Linked DNA regions of Homo sapiens: region 2 is linked to region 1. Evidence: promoter capture Hi-C in human tissues and cell types (Jung and others, 2019). All regions are on one chromosome and are shown on one strand. Each heading gives the region's core, a stretch centred on a gene start or on the middle of the fragment in contact. The rest is flanking DNA. Distances are from core to core; before and after follow the strand shown. Region 1 holds the start of GDF6 (growth differentiation factor 6). Region 2 overlaps LOC124901983 (a long non-coding RNA gene).

Region 1 (5,991 bases), core at 1,318-3,817:
GAGGCCTCCCCAGACTGGGTGCACATGCAATCCCTCCTCTATCTCCAGGATCGGGGGCATACAGCGCAGTGGCGGGGATGGGGGTGGGGAGGCTACAGGGCAAACCAGGGTAAAGTGATTTCGCGTCTACGCCGGATTGGGGCCCCCAAGACTTTTCCCCAACCCTTGTCTGAATGCCACAGGCTTCCGGAGACACCTCCGAACAGCCCGCAGGGTCTTTTGGTCCTGTGCCAAATTCACAGGGCGCAGCGAACCAGTTATGGTGCCCACTTGGGGGAGGGGCAGAGATTCTTGCCACTTCATTCCCGGGCAAAGAAAATCCGCGCCCAACCGCCGGCCAGCCTAGGCCTCTGGGACTTCTTCTCTTGAGGAAGGGCCTCTTGAGCAGTCTTCTCTGAGCTTCCTTAGCCTCCTTCCGCAATTGTAGTAGAGAAAGTGCACGATTAACAGAGGACTTTGAGGGACAGAAACAACTGTAGCAAGGCGTGCGTCGTGGGGAGGGTTGGCGAGCTGCACGGGCAGCACGGAGGCCAGGGACTCAGTTGCACTACTACGAAGAAGCCACATGTCTTTGCAAAGGTGACTTTAGTAGCCCTAAAATCATCATAAAATACCTGGCGTTAATTTGCCCTCTGGACCTTTCAGCAGCTCATGAACCTCGCTGACCTCGGGCTGCAGCGGCGAGACCCTCGAGCAAGGAACGCGACTATGAGTGAGAGGCGGGGACTGGAGCCGGGGAAGAGCTCGGGGCTGGGGGCGGGGGGGCCGTTAGCCTGCTCTAAAAAGCTTAAGAGATGTGCGAGCACCCAGGGTAGCAGTGGCTGAAGCAGCTTCCGAATCCCGAACCCCAGCGCTGCAAGGTTTCCGGGCAACCCCACTTAACTGGGAGCAGGTCAAAGTCATGGAGCTAAGTCTAGGGAGGATGGAGGAGTGGATATCTGCCTAAATCGCTTTTATCCCGTCATTTTCTTCCTTCCTTCTCTTTACTCTTCCTTTCCTTTTTCTCCCTTCCTTTCCTGTCTCCTTCCACATTATTGTCTCTCTCCTTTAGGAGCTTAGTTTCCGATGCCTGTGGATCCTTCCCTGATTTCTGGGACCAGAGGTGGTGCGAGGTTTTCTTGAGGGCACTGGCCACGCTGCAGATCAACGCCGGTGGCAAGAAGGGGCCGCAAGGGTTTCCGCAGACACCCACACATGCAGGCGTTCCCACAGAGGGTACCAGGGATTTCCCAGACCCCCACCAGCCCTCAGGAATAGCGTAGAGAGAGGAACGTCGCCTGGCTGAGAAAGGTGGATGGGCATACCCATGTACCTTTGTGTATTAAGTACCCACAACCTCCGAACTTAGCCGTCCCTGTCCCGGCCCGCCCAACTGCTGCCGCCGCATCTGCAGAAACCACTCGTGTTGAGGCCTCGGAGCAGCCGGGAGCACCACGCTGGAGCAAAAAAGCCGGAGGGCGCAGGGCTCCAGCCCGGCTGACCATCCCACCCAGCGCAGGGACCAACGGAAAACCCGCGCGGCGCCAGGACCAGGGGGCTGCCCGACGCCGCTCGCGGACTAGTTCCTCAGACTGTGGGACTCCCTAGTGCCGGCTTTGCCCAGGGCTTTCCAAGGCTGTCTCATGCCCTAGATCTGCCCCAGCAGCTCAGGCCTTGGACTGCGAACCCAGTATCCCGAGACACCGATTCCATCAGTCCCCATCCCGACCCCTCTCCAGCCGGGTTCATCCGCCTGCTGCCTCCCGTCCTCCACGTTTCCCCCACCAGCCACCAACAAGCGGCAACCACGCTGCCTTCTGCAAAAGAGGAAGAAGGAAAGAAGGGAGAGAGAAAGAAAGGGGGGGAAAGGAAGGGAGGTTTAGAGACTGGAATAGAATCCGCAGCCACATTCAGAAACTTACTCGAGCTTGAGAAAAACAATTTAAGAAAAGTAAAAAGGAAGTGTCCAGAGCAGGAAGGGAATTCACAAATGTAGCCTCCAGCGGGAACAGCTCCCTGGCTGCCGAGCTCCAGCGGGAGGGGAGTCGAGCGTTTTCTTTGCCACTTACCTAGTCCCCTGTCTACAAAGCTGGTGATCGTATTAGCCGACTTGGAAGACTGGAAAAAGCTGGCATTGATGCCCAGCTTCTCAGCGATGGAGTAAGTCCTGTAGATTGACAGCATGTACTCGTGGGGCACCACGCGCGGACCCCTGCCTGGCGGCTCCTGCGCCCGGGGCTGCTGAGCCCGGGGTTCGTCCTGAGGCCGCGGCTGTGGTTCCTGGCCCTCCCGGCCCGCGTCACTGTCGCGCGGCGCCCGCTGCATCTTGCCTTCCTTGCGGCTTCGCATGCCCTTGGTGGAACCCAGCTCGGCGGACGACGAGGAGGATGAGATGGAAGCCTGCTGGAAACCGGGCAAATCCCACAGAAAACTGATGAGGAAGACGGCCGAGAGCAGGACCCTGGGAGTATCCATGGCGGGCAAGTGGCTGCGTCTCCCCAGGAGGCGGTGGCGGCGGCGCAGGACGCGCGGGGCACGGAGCGGCTGGACAGCGGCCGGGGCCCGGCTCCTCGGGCGGACTCGGAGTGCGAGGAGCCGGGTCCCAGCCACACAAACCCCGGCCCCGCCACGCCCCCTCCCGCCCCTCGCCGGGAGGGGAGGAATGGGGAGGGAGGGCAGAGGAGGGGTGGGGAGGGTGGGAGGAGAGCCGGGTGGTGCGGGCCGGAGGTGTGGGGGAGAGGGGCCGCGGTGCGCCGGTGTGGCAGGAAGACGCAGCGCCCCCGCGGGACGCGCGCGGGGTTGCCGGGCGGTGCGCGCGGCGCGGGCCGCAAGCGCTGACCGGGGGAAGGCGGGCGCTGCCGGCCCGTGGCCGGGGAGCAAAGGCTGGCCCGCCGCGCCAGGGTCCCCCTCGAACTCCCGGAGGTGTGGTCCCTCCGCAGCGCGGCCCCGGCTCTCGGTCCTCGCCAGCCGCCTCCACTTTCCTGGGAGCGAGCGGCCCCGGAGGAGGGAAGCGGCGGCGGCGCCCCCAAGAGACAGCTTGGAGCAGGCGCCTCTGCTGCAGGCTGCGTGCTGCCTCGGGGCGGTGGTACCCTCCCTCCTCGGCCCCAACCGCCAGGCCTGCCGTTTGCGCCCCTCAGGGGCCAGCCCGGAGCCAGAGAAGCCTCGCCCTGGGCCAGGCGCAGGGCCCAGCTCGGAACAGCCCCATTTTCTCGGTTGGGTATCGCTCTCCACAAAGACAGGCGTCTATTCCCGACCCTCGAGGTCAGGCAAAGGCCACGAGTCTTTAGAGTTTGGATCGATGCTAAAAGCTGCTGCGCTCCCCTGCAGGCCCCAGCCTCTCCTCTCGCAGTCCCCAACCTCTTCTGACGCAGACTTTAGCTGCTCCACTTCTTCGTCTGCTCCCGGGATCCTCTCCCTCTCGCGGCCTGCCCCCCGCCTCCACTGCATCCCCATTTTCCCTCTCTTCTTTCCCTCCCGCCTGCAGGACTTCCTCCTTCCCCAAGTTCCTTCTGCATTCCAATCCCTCTTCCCCAGCCTGCTTTTCTTCTCACACTGCCCTCCCATCTCACACTGCCTTCCCACCCTCTCTCTTCCCGGCCTCCCCCCTCGCCTTCCAGTGGACCCCTCCCTTTGCAGCTCTACCCCAATCTGTTTCTCTTCAGCCCAGCCTCGCCCCATCACGAGTTTCCTTTATCTGTCCCCAGATTCCCCGTGCCTGTCTTCCCCGCCCACTGCCTCGCTCATTCCTGGGCCTGCACGCTGAAAGGCGATGCGGCGTAGCGCTGCTTCTGTCTGCCACAGTGCTCTGCCCTGGACTGCTATGGGCAGAAGAGTTTCCCTCAGTACTGATTGGGTGCTCAGGCACCAACCATAAAGTACCCTCCTTTAATCGTGCCAACAGCTTTGTGAGGTTGGCGTTGACTATTTTCACCTTCACGGATGGAAAAAAAAAAGACTCAATGGAAATAAGTGACTTTTCCAAGGCCACTCTGCCAAGAGGTTATGCAGCAAGGGACAGAACCCAGGCTCCCACCCCAAGCCCAAGATTCTTCCCACTACAGCATAGACAGTCATTCCTGGCCCAACTTCTCTATTTCAGTTCTGGCTTTTTTCTTCTCTTTATGGTTTCACTTGATCTCAGGTGGCTTCTTTCTCCGCCATGCTACTTTCTGTGTGTGTTCCCAGTCTCTCCAATCTCCTCCCTCTCACTTTCTAACCCCTTCTTCCTTTTGCTTTTTCATCACCTCTTCTGTCCTGCAGGGACCACTCACATGACAGCCTGCAGGGGGAGGGAGTTTTGCTGCGCTGCTCCCCTCATCCTTTAACTTCCTTAAGGTCTGGGATATGCCCTCCACCCTGGACACTGGCCTCCTCCAGGTAATGGCAAGCACCCACAGAGAACTTGTGTGTCAGTCATGGTTTGAAGCCCTTCGCCAATATTATTTTACTTAATCTTCACAGCAATCCTGAAATAAGTGCTGTATTATTCCTATTTTACAGATAGGGAAAGTGAGGCCCAGGGTCACACTACTCCAGAGTCTGGGCTCTTAATCACTGGGCTATTGAGCTTGGCTGCTCTCCCCTTGGTCTCCGTGGATGCCCCTTCTGGCCCTATCCCAATTCTACTTATGTCCCCTAGTTTGGGTTTCATGGTTGTCAAGTTCTGAGACCTTATACTTGAAGGTGCTTTTACTATAATATTTTCTTCCTTCCTCTCTCTGTGCTTTAAAATGGCTTGTTAATATTTACAATAAAATAAAATAAAAGGAGATAAACTGAAAGAAAAAATTATTTCTCAAATTTTTGCCACTACAACAAATCCAAATGTTTTTACCTTTTGGGTTCCCTTCCACTCCTTCTTTATTTGTTATGCACATATCCTTTTCATATTATTGTAATCCAGGGATAGATATTATGTTGGATTCCTCCCTTGTCACTTAACATTTTACAACCAAATCCACTGCCTTCGATGTCTCTCCCCTATGTCCCCCCTTCACTGCCCCTCTGCTGGCCTGCAAATGCAATCTCTGTAAAACCACAGACTCAAAACTCCCCATTTCTCATTTGCAGAAGGAACATTTCCCCCCTGCCTACCTGTCGCCTGTGGGATGTAAGTGGTCTTTTTTGGCCTGCCCTGTGTCTTGCTCTGTATGTCTGCCTCTCAAGTGTCATCCGGGAAAGTGCCCTCCTTGTGATCTATTTCCATCCCTTCCCCAGGAAACAACACTTGTGGTTTGTGTTATCAATATTTTAATTTCTATCAGTATGGTGCCTGGTTAACAATGATTCATAGTTTTACAGTTTCAGACCCTCCATCCAATAAGTACTGTATGTTTCCTGCCTGCAGAGGCAACTCTATGTGTTCTCTCTTCATTTTGCCCACAGCAATTATTATCTGCTGCAAGTTATCAGTAAACAGGAAACAAAGTAATGAGCCTATTGCTGTGGTTTAGGACCTCTCAGCCTGCTAGATGGAGCCACACGGAACAGTAAATGACACTGAAACAGGGACCACAAAGGCCATGGTCTGTTGTCCTTCAGGATTCCCCTGGGGCTGACATTACCCTCCGTCATCGCTATCAGCCTCGGGTCTTTGCAAGAAAAGTTCTAGCTGGTCTTTGCCTGAAAGGGCTGCAGCGATCATTTTACAGGTGAGGAAACAGAGGTGCAGACAAACTCAGTGGAGAGAGCCCGAGGTTTTAAACTAGTCCAAAATACAGCTAGGATTAGGAGCCAAGACATTCTGACTCCTAAGCGAATGCTTCTCCTGTATTAAAAAAAAAATTTCAAAGATCATGACAATGACCCACAGTAGTATATAGTGTCTGATCTCTTCCTCTCCAGTGGGTAAATTTCAGATAGTTTCAGATAGGAATCCACCCCAATGTGGAGACCACACCAAAGCCTTTGCACTCATGCTGTCTTTCTCTCTCTCTCTCTCTCTCTCTCTTGCTCTCTCTCTCTCTGTGTGTGTGTGTGTGTGTGTGTGTGTGTGTGTGTGTGTGAAAAATA
Region 2 (5,991 bases), core at 1,443-3,942, 140 kb before region 1:
GAGACTAAAAGTATTTGTAGATTGTCAAACCACATCCAGGGATGAGTTATATCCTGGCAACTCTATTCCATTTTATACCACAAAAAAGTGCCATTGGACATATTGGGATAAGCAACTAGCTGTCTCTGGTATATGTTTGCTCTTGTTTATATGCTAAGATCACTTCATACAGCCTGGCAGGGCTATGAGTCCTGAGGCAATATCAGCCTCGGGCCACTCACATCTCTTCCCAGACTGAGCATTTCTCACTCTAATCACTGTTGCTCCGTGAAACACTAGCTGGGATGACCCTGTCTGTCAGATCCTTCTGGATGGAGTATTGGAATTTTTTTTGATATTTCTCCTTCAAGTTATTTAGGTACATCACCTCTTGATGTGTTTGAGTCTAAGAAAAACCTATAAGCTTTCCCTGAGAGGGACAGTGGGCTACAAGGAAGCAGGCTGGATTCCTGTTGGAGGATCAAGGGGTACATGGTGTGGATTTTCCAGACGAGGCTGCATAATATGGGCAGCGGAGAGTTTCAGTTCTCACTCAGATAAAGAAGTGAAGTGGAGAAGTTGAGTATAGCTTTTAGCCTTAACTGATCAATAGATAAGAACCTTACCGCCATAAAGAAGGGATTTTGCTTACATTACACACAGAGAGTATCTTTAGACCAGGAAGTAAATACTGCTCAGTTAATACCAAAGAGAGAAAATACAGTGTGTGCCACATAATGGCATTCTGGTCAACAATTGACCCCATATATGACAATGGTCCTTTAGATTAGAATTGAGCTGAAAAATTCTTATTGCCTAGTGACATTGTAGCTATTGTAACATTGTAGCACAATGCATTACTCACACAAATTTATGGTGAGAAAAATAAATCACCATGGATATATTCCTGAAAAGAGTGATACCTTCTCAAGGAGAGCCTCAGGAAGGTCCTTCAGAAGGGATTCCACAGGAAGGCACTGTTGTCACAGGAGATGACAACTCCAGGCATGTTACTCTCCCTGAAGACTTTCCAGTGGGACAAGATGTGGAGGTGGAAGACAATGATACCGATGATCCTGACCCTTTTTTTGCTAAGGTGTGTATTTATGTCTTGGTTTTTAACAAAAAAGTATTAAAAGTAGGAAAAATGTTAAAAACTTTAAAAATAGAAAAAAGCTTATAGAGTATGGATATAAAGAAAGGAAATATTTTGTACAGCTGTACAATGTGATGTGTTTGTGTTTGTTTGTTTGTTTGTTGTTTGTTTGTTTGTTTGAGACCGGGTCTCACTCTGTTGCCCAGGCTGGAGTGCAGTGGTGTGATCTTGGCTCACTGCAACCTCTGCCTCCCGGGTTCAAGTGATTCTCGTGCCTCAGCCTCCCGAGTAGCTGGGACTACAGGTGTGAGCCACCATGCCTAACTAATTTTTGTATTTTTAGTAGAGACGGGTTTTCACCATTATGGTCAGTCTGGTCTCAAACTCCTAACCTCAGGTGATCCACCTGCCTCAGCCTCCCAAATTCTGGGATAACAGGTGTGAGCCACGTGCCCAGCGATGTTTGTGTTTTAAGCAGTTATTACAAAGGGTTAAAAAGTTAAAAAAGTAAAAAGTTTATAAAGTTAAAAAGTCACGGTAAGCTAAGGTTGATTTATTATTGAAGAAAGAAAAACATGTTTTCCTAAATTGAGTGTAGCCTGAGTGTAGCCTAAGTGTACTGTGTTTATAAAATCCGTAGTAGTGTACAGTAAAGTCCTAGGCCTTCACATTCACTCACCACTCACTCACTGACTCACCCAGAGCAACTTCCAGTCCTGCAAGCTTTGTTCATGGTAAGTGCCCTGTACAGGTGTACCATTTTATATCTTTTATACCATAATTTTACTGTACCTTTTCTATATTTAGATATGTTTCAATACACAAATACTTACCACTGTATTACAATTGCTTACAATATTCAGTACAGTAACATGCTGTACAGGTTTGTAGCCTTGGAGCAATAGACTATATCTTATAGCCTAGGTATGTAGTGGGCTACACCATGTAGGTTTGGGTAGTACCCACTATGATGTTCACACAACAGAATTACGTAATGATATATTTCTTAGAACATATCCCCGTCATTAAGCAACTCATAACTGTGTGGGTAATCTCCACTGGTCCAATTCTGCCCCCCACCCCAAAAAAATGTAGCAGAAACCACAACGTGATACACACCATACTAGAGGCATAGCCCCAGATATGTGTTCCCACTTCAAATTTTCCACATAGGTTGGCTAAAACCAGGTCCTGGAATGTTAATTAGGACCTGATCGCAACTAATGGACCAGAAATTATGAAATGCTTCATGTTACCAGTCATTTAAACTAGATAGTTAAGAATCCAGTTATGGTTAGGTTCAAACTGAGGCTTAAATCTAATATATTTATTGCAAGTAACACTGAACACTCAAGTACCCTTGTTTTGAATCTAAACGACACCACGTATTGTATCCATTTCCTGCATCTTTGAACCATGCAGCAGCCAAATCTGTCATCTTTCTTTCTCATTTGGAAGTATTCAAAGTGACATCTCCTACTATGTCACCATACCTGAGAGAAAACGGGAGTTCGGTTCCCATGCACTGTTTTACATTAGACGAATTTAGTCTGAGAATGTAAGGCAAAGCTGGTAACCCTGCTGCCTGGGTTATGAGTAGGGTGGTATACCAGGGTCAGAGTTGCTCCCATTTTTTCATTTTTGGCCTGTTTGCTTCACAAAAACATTTTCCTTGCCTTAGTCTATCATTATGCCACTTTTTCTTCTTTTTCCTAGAAATATCCACCAGGAATGTGCACTATACGTGGAAATACAAACACAAACCGGAGCTGAGAAGGGCCTGGGTCCCCTGACATCAAGGTTTTTATAAAGAAAAATACACAAAGGCAGCCACGCCTCACTCTGGCTTCCTAGTAACCCCAGAAAAAAATTCCAGAAATGTGTTTTAATTCTTTAGCCTGAGTGACAAAAAGGTTAAAATGTTTCCCAAAGTCCACTTAAGAATAATTCCGACCTTGGGAAAATGGATTTTGTTAGCCCCAAAGCTTATTAAGATTAATGGCAAGAGGGGCTCGTTATTCTGCCAGAAAAATCTACTTACAAATCTAAGAGGGGGATTTTATTCTGTCCATTTCTAAAAGCAGGGGACTTAGAGTGCCTGACAAGTACCCCCTAGGAAGAGGGTGTGCCATATACAGACAGCAGGGGTGCATGACTGGGATGCTCACTTGGAGAGGTATTGGCTAGGCCAGGAAAAAGGGTTCCTTTATGGGACTTCCTATATAGAGAGGTCACCCTGCTCTCACTTCTGAAACCTACCACCCTGGCCACACAACTAGGTTTTATGGAGCCCAGAAAGATATTCAGAAACTGGAGCCTTATTCAGCGTGTAAAAAGCTCTCATGCCTGTTGGCCTTGTTGCTGCTCCACAACAGGGGACTGTGGCTTATTCAAGTGCTCAGCCATCACAATGACCCCACCACCTCTTTCACGACAACCCCACCACCTCTTGGCCCTGCAGCCCCAGCTTCAGACACTGCTGACCAACTGACTCTTCCCATGCCTTGAATGGAAACTCACAGGCAGGATCCCGGCAATTTGCTTATGCACCACGAAGTGCCAGGTATCTCTGTGGGGCGGCACCCGTGGGCTGGCTGCTTTTCAGGTGCAAGATGGATGGCAGAATTTTGGCAAAGTGCTCAGCCCTGGCTATCTTGGCAAGGCAGAGCACAGAAGCCTGTTGCTGAGAGACCGGAATTCCCAGACTCAGAGATGACTAGACAAGGACTCTGGCTTTGATTATCAGCTCATGGAATTGGTGGAAGGCAAATAGACAGGAAGCCTTCAGGTTTTTAAGGAATTTGGTTCAGTCCAAGAAACCCAAGCCTGGCTGACAACAGCCTGTGATTCTTCAATCCCTGAGGTAATTTCCAGGCCCCTCAAATTTGCACCAAAAAGTAATGGGCTTCAAAGAAGTACAGATCCCAAAAAGGGCATATGTGCCAATATCTATCTCAGATGGGCTAAGAGGACAACGGACAAGGGAGACGTTTCCAGACAGCACATCTAGGATTTGTCAGATTGGCTAACCAAGGAACTCACTGCATTACCAAGGCAAGAACACTTCACTGTTCCTGTCAAGCAGGGAAAAATACATACAGTGAATCAGAGACCACTGTGTACTGTTTTCTCATTGTCTATTTCTTCCAATAAAAGTTTTCCTTGAAGCTATCCTCCACCATTTTATATTTACTGGGTTATCATAGAAAGGAAAACAGGCTTAGCTGTTGCAACGAAGAGACCTAAAACTACAGTGGCTCAAAGAAGACAGAAAGAAATTTATTTCTTAAGTGCTAGAGCGGCACTGTCTAATAGAAATATAAGGCAAGTCTCATTTGTAATTTGAAATTCTCTAGTAGCCACACTGGAAAAAATAAGCAGTGAAATTAATTTTTGATAATATATTTCTTTTAACTAATATATCCAAAATATTTTCATTTCAGCATGTAATTGATATAAAATACTATTGATATATTTTGCATTCTTTTTTGGGAGGGACTAAATTATAGCCCATGTCAATTCAGACTAGTCCCATTTCGGGAGCTCAAACGCCACATGTAGCTGGTGGCTACCATATTGGGCAGTGCAGAGTAGAGATCAGAGAGAGTCCCTAAACAGTTCTTTCCAGGGTTAGCCAGGAACTCACAATGCTTCGATTTCATTATTCCACTTTCCTTAGAGCAGGATTTCTCAAGCTCAGCAATATTGACTTTTGAGGCCTGATAAAGCTGTGCTGTTGGGACTATCTAGTGCATAGTAGGATGTTTAGAGTGAGCCTGTTCCATACCTGCTAGATGGAAGTAGCAGTACCTTCCTGTCCCTCCACATTGTGACAATCAAAAATACTGCCAAATGTTGGAGGGTATAGGGCCAAAAATCACCCCAACAGTGGTTCTCAAACTTCTGTGTGTATGCCCTGGAGAGCTTATTAAGACAGAAGTTTCTGGGCCCCACTGCCATAATTCCTGACTCACCAGTTCTGGAGTAGGACCTGAAAATATGCCTTTCCAGTGAGCTCCCTGGACTGCTGGTCCAGGACCCTTTTCAAAAACCACTGGCCTGGGTTGTTATGCTCTTTAGCCCACCTTGCTCACCACCACATGGCATTCTCATTCCCAGGAAGGGGAACAGACAAGAGAGGACAAATGATATGTTTTAAGGCTATAAAGGAGAAGTGGCACGTTTGACTTTTGTTCATATCCCTTTGTTGTGAATTTGGATTCATGGCCACATCTAATGTCAAGAAGTCTAGGAAATGTGGTGTCTAGCTGGGTGGCCATGTGCTTGGTTGAAAATCAGGAGTTCTGTTACTAAAGGGAGGATTGGGAGATTAGATAATGAGGGGAAAATTGCAGGTTTTTCCACAGGAGTGGGTAACATTATTTAGCTATATCAGACTATGAAAAACTCCATCCAGAAACTGACCTAGAAGAAGACACATCAGCTGCAAATCCAGAATCTGGAACTCAAAATGAGAGCTGCTTGTGATTCCAGTAGGCATGAACTTTTGAAGATGTACATAAGGAAAGAAAGGAGTGTGAGACATGGGAAGAAGACAGAGGAGTGGATTTGTCAGTGGAATGTCTTCCCCCCATTCCTTCCCCCATTCCTAATAAGACAAGAAACTCCCCAGATTCGTGATTTTCGCAATTTTAACTCCACTTCTCCAGCTCCAGAGATTGGCCCTGATTGGTCTAAGCCAATCAAGGAATCAGATTTCCCTAGTCACACTGATAGGTTCAGGGATGAACCCATGACTTAAACTAGTCCAACCAGAGGGAAGATCATAATTACCATTTGGTGTTTGGGACAACAGAAACTATTTTTCTCCTTGGATATTAATGAGGAAACTAGTCCTGGAGCAGCTGGCAGCCATGTGACATGAAAGAAGCCAACCCAAGATTAAGCCAAAATAT

The links. Contacts are between HindIII fragments. The study calls those that stand out against the background at their distance.
Region 2: a fragment that was not itself captured here is called in contact with the fragment with the promoter of GDF6 in region 1 in 2 of the 25 tissues and cell types used here (IMR-90 fibroblasts and mesenchymal stem cells).

Annotation. Positions count from the first base shown.
Region 1 is chr8:96,158,239-96,164,229 of GRCh38, forward strand. GDF6 (growth differentiation factor 6) reads right to left here and starts at 2,568. Exons shown (of 2, transcript NM_001001557.4): 1 at 2,049-2,568. The coding sequence starts at 2,454. The HindIII fragment of the contact is 22,921 bases long and covers 1-5,991 here.
Region 2 is chr8:96,018,003-96,023,993 of GRCh38, forward strand. LOC124901983 (a long non-coding RNA gene) reads left to right here. Exons shown (of 3, transcript XR_007061016.1): 2 at 912-1,075; 3 at 2,792-5,991. Among named protein-coding and RNA genes, the nearest start is that of GDF6, 140 kb to the right of the region's middle. The HindIII fragment of the contact is 3,826 bases long and covers 780-4,605 here.